2 separate regions of the Homo sapiens genome follow, and region 1 is linked to region 2. Evidence: promoter capture Hi-C in 16 types of primary human blood cells and fetal thymus (Javierre and others, 2016). All regions are on one chromosome and are shown on one strand. The core of a region is centred on a gene start or on the middle of the fragment in contact, and the rest is flanking DNA. Distances in the headings are between cores, read along the strand shown. Region 1 holds the start of MPP4 (MAGUK p55 scaffold protein 4). Region 2 holds the start of NDUFB3 (NADH:ubiquinone oxidoreductase subunit B3).

Region 1 (4,244 bases), core at 291-2,790, 630 kb before region 2:
TTAATTATCTCCCAGTTGTAATGTTTTCTCAAGAGGCCTTTCCATCTTGTTGCTGCCTCTACCAGAATGTGCCTGTCCTCTGTTGGAAGGGGACCAACCCTTAAAAATCCGTTTATGTTAAATACTTTGCATTTACATTGGAGATTGTTTTGAGTTTCTGAACAAACACATAAATAACCACATTTGCCTGGTAAAGCCAAATTTACAGAATTTCTGACTCTGGGCGGGGGTGGATAATATGTGGAAATGGACAAACAAAAACTTTGAGACAAATTGACCCATTGAGAAGATTTCCAATGATGATAGGCTGTCTCTGTTCTAAGAAAAGCCATGTTACAATTCGTCCTTTTACTGGAGTCTTGAATGAAACTGTTCAGTTACTTTGGATTCTTCCTACTATATGCTTTTCAGATAGCATATTAAAGTTATAAATTTTGAAGTGTATTGGAAGAAAAACCCTAAATCTCCAGGCCAATGTTTGTAAATAGAAGTCCTTGGCACTCCTGCAGCAGTTTACAATGGTCATTCACATGCGTAATGAATGCTTACAGCAGCCCAAGGATGCAGGTGTTATCCCCATTTCCCCCCATTTTTCAGACAAGCAGTGACCAAGATTTGCTCACTGCCAGAGCTGGGACTCCAGCCTAGAACTTCCCTACTCCCTACTTCCCTAGAAGTCCAGTGCTTTTTGCTACTACAGCTGCCAGAGATGTCATTTCATAGCTGGTTATGTATTGAAAGTTCTTAAAAGTGAGTTAAAAATGAAAATCTTATTGAAATCAAGTGCTTTTCACAAAATATGCTGTACTCAAAACACAAATGTATCACATTCCCAACTTGTGTTTTCATCTATGATGGAGAGATAAGGAAAGCCATGTGATTAATATGGGTAGAAGGGCTGAGGACCCTCTGATAATTGCCATTTGGTCTCTACCTTTTGCCTTGCTGTCAGCAATACCTTCCTCTCCTTTCTGCAATATCCCCTTCCAAATGCTCTCCCCACTGAGCACTCCCTGCAGTATTAAGTTTTCAGATAAAGAAGTAGCTCCTATCTGAGACAGAAAGCACTATTTGTTAGGTTCAGAACAGTGGCTTGGGAGGGGATTGACCAGAAGGTACTGTTTTTGATGGGTTTCTATTATTAGCTGAACAGTCTTCAGTTGTTTTCTCACCATAACATGAGAGATTTAATAAGGTTAGTAGGTTATTGGCTTATTTCCGGTCCTGCCACATTTTTTTCTTTCATTAAAAATGCTATCTTCTGTTGTGGAATGTCTGTCATCTTGAACTAATCAACAAAAATACTATGTTTTTCTGCCGTTAACTATGTGTTGGCAATTTGAGAGAAAATACTAGAATGTAGGTTTGAAAATGATACAAATTAGACTTCAAGGAATACTTAAGAAGATTTGTGGCAGGAAAGGCTTGTGAGTAATTTAGTTGTTAGGCTGGGTTAGGCATCTGTGGATTACATCAAAGAGGATGTGCAGAGATTTTATCGGGAGCAGTGAGGTGACTTTGGCAGCTAACAGGCCACTAGTATCCTACTAAAGCTTTTGTCTGGATAGGAGCAACATGCATGTTTACAGTCTTGCAGGTAAGAGACCTTGGCAAATAATCCTCAGTTACCAGAAGATGTATCCATAACTGCCTAGCTTGCCTGTCAGTTTTTAATAGCTAAAGATATAAATCTGGGTAATCTAACTCAAATGGCTTAGTTTCATTTTAACTCAAATGATATGGGGAATTTTATGATCTTGAAAGAGCAGGTTTTGCTTCGAGAAGCCATTTCTTCAGTATGGAATAATGAGTTGTCAGGAAGATTGAGTACAATGGGCATTTGCCCTGGTCCTAATCAACAGCATTTGGACCCAGAGGAAGCCAGCTATTTTTGTAAGGGCCATTTCTCATCATTAAGTTTCCAAGTGCTTTTTTAGGGTTTGTCTAGTAAAAAGCACTATTTTGAAAAACAAGCATAGTAAGGGTAGGGGGTTGTGGCATTTAATAGTACGTTTTAAAAAGCTAATGGAAATACTTTTAAAACAAGATTTAGGACAAATTCCTTAGGCATCAGTCACACTAATGCATCTTCTGAGTCAAGAACTGGCTATCCTTTCTGTGTACTCAGTCCGGAATTGCATGTGGTGGGTGCTTACTTATTTGCAGTCTCAATCAAGAATTCTCACTCTCAAGATAGCAGAAATAGATAAGCTTCAACTGACAAATTTGGTACAGAAGTCATGGAAAGGAAGGTAAGTCTTTTGCCAGGCATCATGCCAGGCATCAGCATCTTTCAGGACTAAGGAAACAAAAGAGGAAAACTCGATTTTACTACATGTTAACTCTACTGAATACCTCCTTGAATGTCAGATTCCTTATCTGTAAAACAAAGGTTTTGCATTTGATTATCTCTAAGATCCGCTTCTGCCCCCAGTTTTAAAGTTTGATAGGGAAAGAGGTTTAAGTCAGGATACCAGGCCAGGGAGGAAAGGAAGGGAGGGCACAGGCCTCTGGAGTTCAGCTGCCTCCCCCATTAGGATTGAAGTCCCAGCTGCTGGCTACTGCCTTGAGGGAGGTATCAGCCTTTTACTTCTGGATCTTGGCCTCTCCTTGTTCTACCCCTTCCCAACAACAACTGAACATACCAAGTGCTTGCTATGGCCCAAGCACTGTTGCAGGTGAAGCTGCAGCATGAACAAGATAAGCAACATCTCTGCTCCCCAGGCCCTCTGCAGACATGACACCTGCGGGAGACAGACACTGAGCAAGCCAGTGGATACAAGAACTGGGAAAATGAGAAGTGCTATGAGGGCAAGAAGTTGCAACTGTTTTCTTAGCTACCTGGAGGGAGGGAAAATCATTTTCTGGAAGTTTTTTTCTATGAGTTTTGTCTTAGCTTTGGCTGTCATAACAAAGTACCATAGACAGTGGCTTAAACAACAGAAATGTATTTTCTCATACAGTTCTGGAGGCTGGAAGTTGAAGATTGGGATGCCAGCATGGTTGGGTTCTTGCGAGGGTTCTCTTCCTGGCTTTCAGATGGCCGCGTTTTCACTGTGCCATCATCTGGCAGGGAGAGAGAGAACACATGAACTCTGATGGCTCTTACCCAGACGCTAATGACATCTTGAGGCCTCTACCTCATGACCTTAACCCAGTTACCTCCCAAAGGCCCCATCTTCAAATGCCATCAACAATGGGGATTAGGGCTTCAACATCTGAATTGGGGGTGGGGACACAACATTCAGTCCACCATAAATTTGTCATAGGAACCTGAAGATGAGGAGCCAAGCACAGTTTTTAGAATTTGCATAAGTTGTAGATTACTGTAATTATTGTTTTTGCCTCTATGGCTGAGAAACTTTGGGTCAAAACGAGCCTTTTAGAATGTATGAATTAGTTATCTAGGTAGCCCTGAAGTTGGCTCTAGATTTATTAGAAGCTATTTTAACCATTGCATTCACTCAAGAAACCACCGCCTATCTGTGAAGCACAGTCTATCTGTAAAGCTCCCTCACAATAAATTCATCTCAGAAATATGTAGTCTCTAGTGTGTGCCCCCAACTGCTGAATGGGTAGGCCTAGCTCAGCACAGTCATTCGGGCATTAAATATGGCAGAAATGTGGTCCACCTCATGACGTGCAAACAACAGTTGGCTTGTTTAATCTGCACTGCTTTGCCAAGGACGTGTGATTTGTGAGGTGCTGGAGGGGAACCAATTTTAAGAGTCAGCCTGAGTGTCAGCCTCATCTGTCTGCTCTGACTTTTGTCTGCTCTCTAGCAGGCACTCCATCTCCCTTTTCAATTTTCTACCCTGGAAGTGCTCCCCTCCAGGGAGGAAGATGAGTCAGATATGCAGCTGTGATGCTAAATGATTCAATAGAGTCAAAAACAACACAGAACACAGGAAAACGCATTGTTTAATCTGACTCAATTACAAGTGGGCAAGGTAGGTGATGGAGGGCAAGTCAAAAGCATAACGATGTCAAGCTTTGGTAGAACCTAGCAAACCGGAAGACTTCAGGGTGTTTGGAAAGGAATGTGTAGGGGAAAGTTGTCTAAAATGCTGTAACAGCTTTCTGTGTTGCTCTTCTCACTGCCTTAGAATTTAGAGTCAAAATAATAATGATCTTTTCTTCTTTTAGATAGCCTTCCTGGCTTCAACCCACAATCAGTCTAGATTCTAGACAGTGGTTCTCAACCCTATCAGAGTCAATACTCCAGTCTTTAACAACTAATTTGA
Region 2 (4,438 bases), core at 20-2,519:
TGAACCCATTTATATAGATTGAAATGCCTAACAATTCATTTTTTAGGAATTCATCATAGACGGAAAAATTAAAGTAAAACAAGTGAGTGCTTAGCACAAGTCAGGATAATGGTTACCTCTTGGTGGAGGAGATGGAATCACAGAAACATACTGGGAGATTCTAAGGCAGTGTTTTTCAACCAATTTTTAACTATTGTCCCTGTAAGGAACCTTTCTAGACATTTTATTCCTAATCACACCCCCCGCCATGAAAATTTAACACTACATATATACTGTATAACTGTTTATATACTGTGGCCCTTTGGAGGGACACAAATCATTGTAGTAACTAAGATTCCGACCCCGGCCCCACCAATTTTCAACCCCTTGAAATGTAAAATCACCCCTGTTAAGACTGCATGTTCTAAGTTATTGGCAATGCTTTATTTTCTAATCTAAGAGGTGGATACAGGAGTGTCTGCTTCTGTTAGTTATAATTTTTTAAAATGTATGTTTTATACACCCTTCTGTATATATACTTGACAATAAAAAATAAAAATAGAAAAATTGACTTAAATTGTGCTGAGGACTGAAAAATGGTGGTTATTTCCGTTTCAGAGCAGCTCAAATAATAACAGTAAGGAAATTAGTTAAATAAAGAAAAAACATGCAACCAAAAATTTTAAAAGCTATCTATGTCTGAAGTGAATCTAAAAGTCTCATGAAGATCAACCTCCACTAAAGGAAGCTGGCTCTAAGAAAATGTGCTGGTATCCTTTCCCTAAGAAAGAAATAAGAAGATAATGCTACTTCCACTACATGCAATTTTAGTTTACCGAAGACTATCAAGTATATATCTTAACTTCCTCGTATTAAAAACTGTGATTATATGAATATTAGAACATAAAAAACAAATGAACTGTTATTACTTTTAGTGATGCTGTTCTTCTGCCTTTGCGATCCAAAGGCAAACAAAGACAATTTTGCGTGTGGCAGAAGCGGGAACAAGCACCTGGATTTAACAACTACAGTAATGATCACTGAATCCTCCAACCACCTCTTCCTACCCCAACTCTAAACTAGGACTTCATTAGTTCTCGCCTGCTAGTTCTTTGATCTCCCTCCCAGCCTCCCATCCTTCTCCATTTAGTCTCTCCTTTTCTGCACTCCCCAGAATAGAGTCTAGCTCTTAATCCTAATCAACGGGCCTCCCACCAACTCCCTAATTTACCTGACAGCAATCTGACCTCTCAGGACACTCAACTCTGCAACCGGAGCCAACCGGAAACGGAGGTTGTCACCTCGAGTTTCTCACGGCAGGAAAGCGGAGAAGCCGCTTAACGTTCCGATACTGGGTTAGAGATTCCTGAATCAGGTAGAGACTACATGAGGGACGCTGGAAGTCGATTATTTTCCCAGTATATGTGCATCCTCAATCTGACTGAGGTAACAGATACTGTAGAAAAGAGAAGGGCGGGGAAGATAATATGTTGTCCTTGCTTGGGGACGGAATCCTTAGACACCGCACACAGGGCGGGGCTGCCGGCATACTGCAGCCAATAAGGGAGGCTGTTGTTGAGAGCGTGTTCTCACCCAATGAGAGGGTTGGTTGTTGCGCTGCAGTTGGCAGGCTGCTGCGGGAGGCGGCGGCGGTAGGAAGCCGGAGACAGCAGGGTGACAGGTAGGCGGCGGTGCTGTCTTTGGGGGAGGCAAAGTGCTAGATGAAGAGGGGTTTTCTTCTCCTTCGGCCGCGGAAACTACAGACGGGAGCTGGCGAGGGTGGTCTGGAAAGGCGGTAGCCGGTGTGTTGGTGGTCCCGGAACCTCTCGTAAACCAGGTAGCATCTTGGGAGGGTCGTGAGGAGGAGAAGGCGGCAGCCGAGGCGGGTGGAAGCCGAGCCTTGTGGGGCGACGTGGGGGCCCACCTAGGGCGTGGGGGCTGCGGTGGCGCCAGCAGAGAGGGAGGAGAGGCGGGAGCAAGGCGGTGTCGTGAGGGCTGAAGGGATTCTTTGCACAAAGCCCCAGGCGAGAAAAGGACACGGCATTGAAGACAGTTAAGAGAAATCCCAGTGATTGCTTCTTAGGGCCATTTCCTGGGGGTGGTGAGGGGGAGCGGAGAAGAAAAATATTTACTGGCGGTCAGATTCTGAACACTCATTATTGCTGTACATTATGTAATCTTTGGCTGTTATTTACCCAAACAACTAGGTTGTCCCTCCTGGGAGAGGAGGTCTTGCAACCTATTAATGTGTTAGAACACTTTTTTCATTGGCTTGAGTGCCATTTACATTGGCAGGTTCTCTAGGCGAAGGGTGGTAGCATGGAGGATAGAGTAGTCACGAAGAGCTTATCCCAATTATGGACTTGACAGATACTAGTTTGCGATGAATGTGGCCAGGTTCATGTTTTGTAGTTCGTGAATTTATTTGAGGGTCAAGGCTGACAACATTTTTTAAAGATCTTCAGAAAAGTGGGGAATCCTTTAAAAATGTACAGTAGGAGCTCAGTGTAAGTTGGAAAATGACTAGAAAATTAGTTGGTAGATCCCTTCCTCCCCCCAGGATATTGTGGAAGTTAGGGACTGTGCAAATAAGGTGGTGGTCTGAATATGGGGAAAAAAATAAACTTTTTTTTTTTTTGAGACGGAGTTTCGCTGTTGTTGCCCAGGCTGGAGTGCAATGGCGCGATCTCGGCTCACAGCAACCTTCGCCTCCCGGGTTCAAGCCATTCTCCTGCCCCAGCCTCCGGAGTAGCTGGGATTACAGGCATGCGCCACCACGCCCGACTAATTTTGTATTTTTAGTAGATACGGGGTTTCTCCATGTTGGTCAGGCTGGTCTCGAACTCCGGACGTCAGATGATCCGCCCGCCTCGGCCTCCCAAAGTGCTGGGATTACAGGCGTGAGCCACCGTGCCCGGCAGAAAAAAGTCAACTTTTAAGTAGTTTGTTCTGTAAGCAAGTCTGAGAAGCTACTTATGAATTATTTATTAGGTTTAAAAAGTGGACTCTGAACCTCTCGGACAGAGGCAAAATATATTTATAGATATAATTAACTAAATTATCTTATTTAAAAAAATTTTATAATTCATTGTTTCCACAATAAAATGTAGAATTAAAATAGGAATTCTATTCAGTATGTGTTATGGAAGGGCAAACGACATAAAAACTTGATTTTGTAGGTCATTGAAAAACAATTTTGAGAGCAGCACTGGAAAATGATTTTAAAAGAAGTGTTATAAATTTCTAAAATGTAAGGTGTTTGAAATATTGCCTTTAGCTTAGGAGATAAGGTCTAATGTAGTGTCAGCAACTCTACAATTTTCCTAAATTTATTTCGGTACTGCATGTCAGAAAAACTTTATAAGATGTGATTTTTTTCTATTAATGGTAATTTATATTCCTATATATGAACCTAAATCAAAATTTCATTTTTTCTCAAAAATTTAATTGGGAAAGAGGTGCATCATTAAAGTTGTTTGTTCCCAGATGTTCTCAGTACTGAGACATTTGTCAGTGCTTTAGATAAAAATTTTTATTGATGTTTGGTGTTTTGTTCTTTGTCTTTTCTCCTTTTCCAAGAATAATGCAATCTCAGTCACAAAGAAAATTTCTGGTTCTATTTTAGGTGGAATTCTGTAGTGTTTTGAGTACCAGTTAAATCTTTGCTTTTATGCGTGTGTGTGTGTGTGTTGCTTTTATGCGTGTGTGTGTGTGTGTGTGTGTGTGTGTGTGTGTGTGTGTGTGTGTTTCTTCTTATGTAACCAGCCTACTAGAGCTGTCTTAGAGAACTAATGGCTGATTTTGAATGGCCAGTAGGTGTCATTGTAGAATGCAGTAAGTTGAGTATCGAGTAGGAAATTACCAAGTAGCTAAAGAAACACTAGTCCAAATTAGCATATAGTGTGGTTAGATGATCGTTTATACGTTATAGAAGTTCTCTCTGATGAAACATTTCAGTATTGGAGCTGTTTATAAGGAATTTGAAACAATGATTGTAAAGGAGTTTAATTGTTTGCCCTAAAATAGACCTTGAAAGTGTGTTTTTTAGCCCGGCCCTTTAACTGTCTTGACATGCAATTCAGATTTAAGTTTGATTATTTGCAATACAGTTTTGGCATCTTGTAGTAGTTTATTAAGTTCTAGAATGATTGAAATTTTCAGCTTGACTGAGTCTTATAGAAAAACCAATGCTACATAGTGAAAAACTGATAAAATATGGGCAGAAGTTTCAAAACTAGTTATCATACCAGTACTTTGTATTGTTCTTTTTTTTTCCCCTTAGAGATCCTTGTTCCGAGTTACTGTTCTTTTAAAGCCAGAACAGAAGATTTTTTTGTCTGTCATCGTCTGTGGCTTATTATCTTTTTTTTGATTTCCAGAATTGCTTCTTTTTACACTTTATCTGGTCAGTAGCCTATGTTCTTTTCTTGGGATGTGGAACTGAACATTTATCACTGAC

The links. Contacts are between HindIII fragments. The CHiCAGO score rates a contact against its expected background, and 5 or more counts as called.
Region 1: a contact is called between the fragment with the promoter of MPP4 here and the fragment with the promoter of NDUFB3 in region 2, in 5 of 17 cell types (total CD4 T cells, non-activated CD4 T cells, fetal thymus and 2 more). The highest score is 11.9, in total CD4 T cells.

Annotation. Positions count from the first base shown.
Region 1 is chr2:201,695,940-201,700,183 of GRCh38, reverse strand. It overlaps MPP4 (MAGUK p55 scaffold protein 4), which reads left to right and starts at 1,540. Exons shown (of 22, transcript NM_033066.3): 1 at 1,540-1,597. RefSeq lists enhancers at 1-408, 409-910. The HindIII fragment of the contact is 2,266 bases long and covers 1-1,555 here.
Region 2 is chr2:201,068,832-201,073,269 of GRCh38, reverse strand. It overlaps NDUFB3 (NADH:ubiquinone oxidoreductase subunit B3), which reads right to left and starts at 1,269. Exons shown (of 3, transcript NM_002491.3): 1 at 1,211-1,269. It overlaps HYCC2 (hyccin PI4KA lipid kinase complex subunit 2), which reads left to right and starts at 1,599. Exons shown (of 13, transcript NM_001321623.1): 1 at 1,599-1,660. RefSeq lists enhancers at 747-1,370, 1,507-1,596, 1,617-1,886, 1,371-1,996, 1,987-2,126. The HindIII fragment of the contact is 13,158 bases long and covers 1-4,438 here.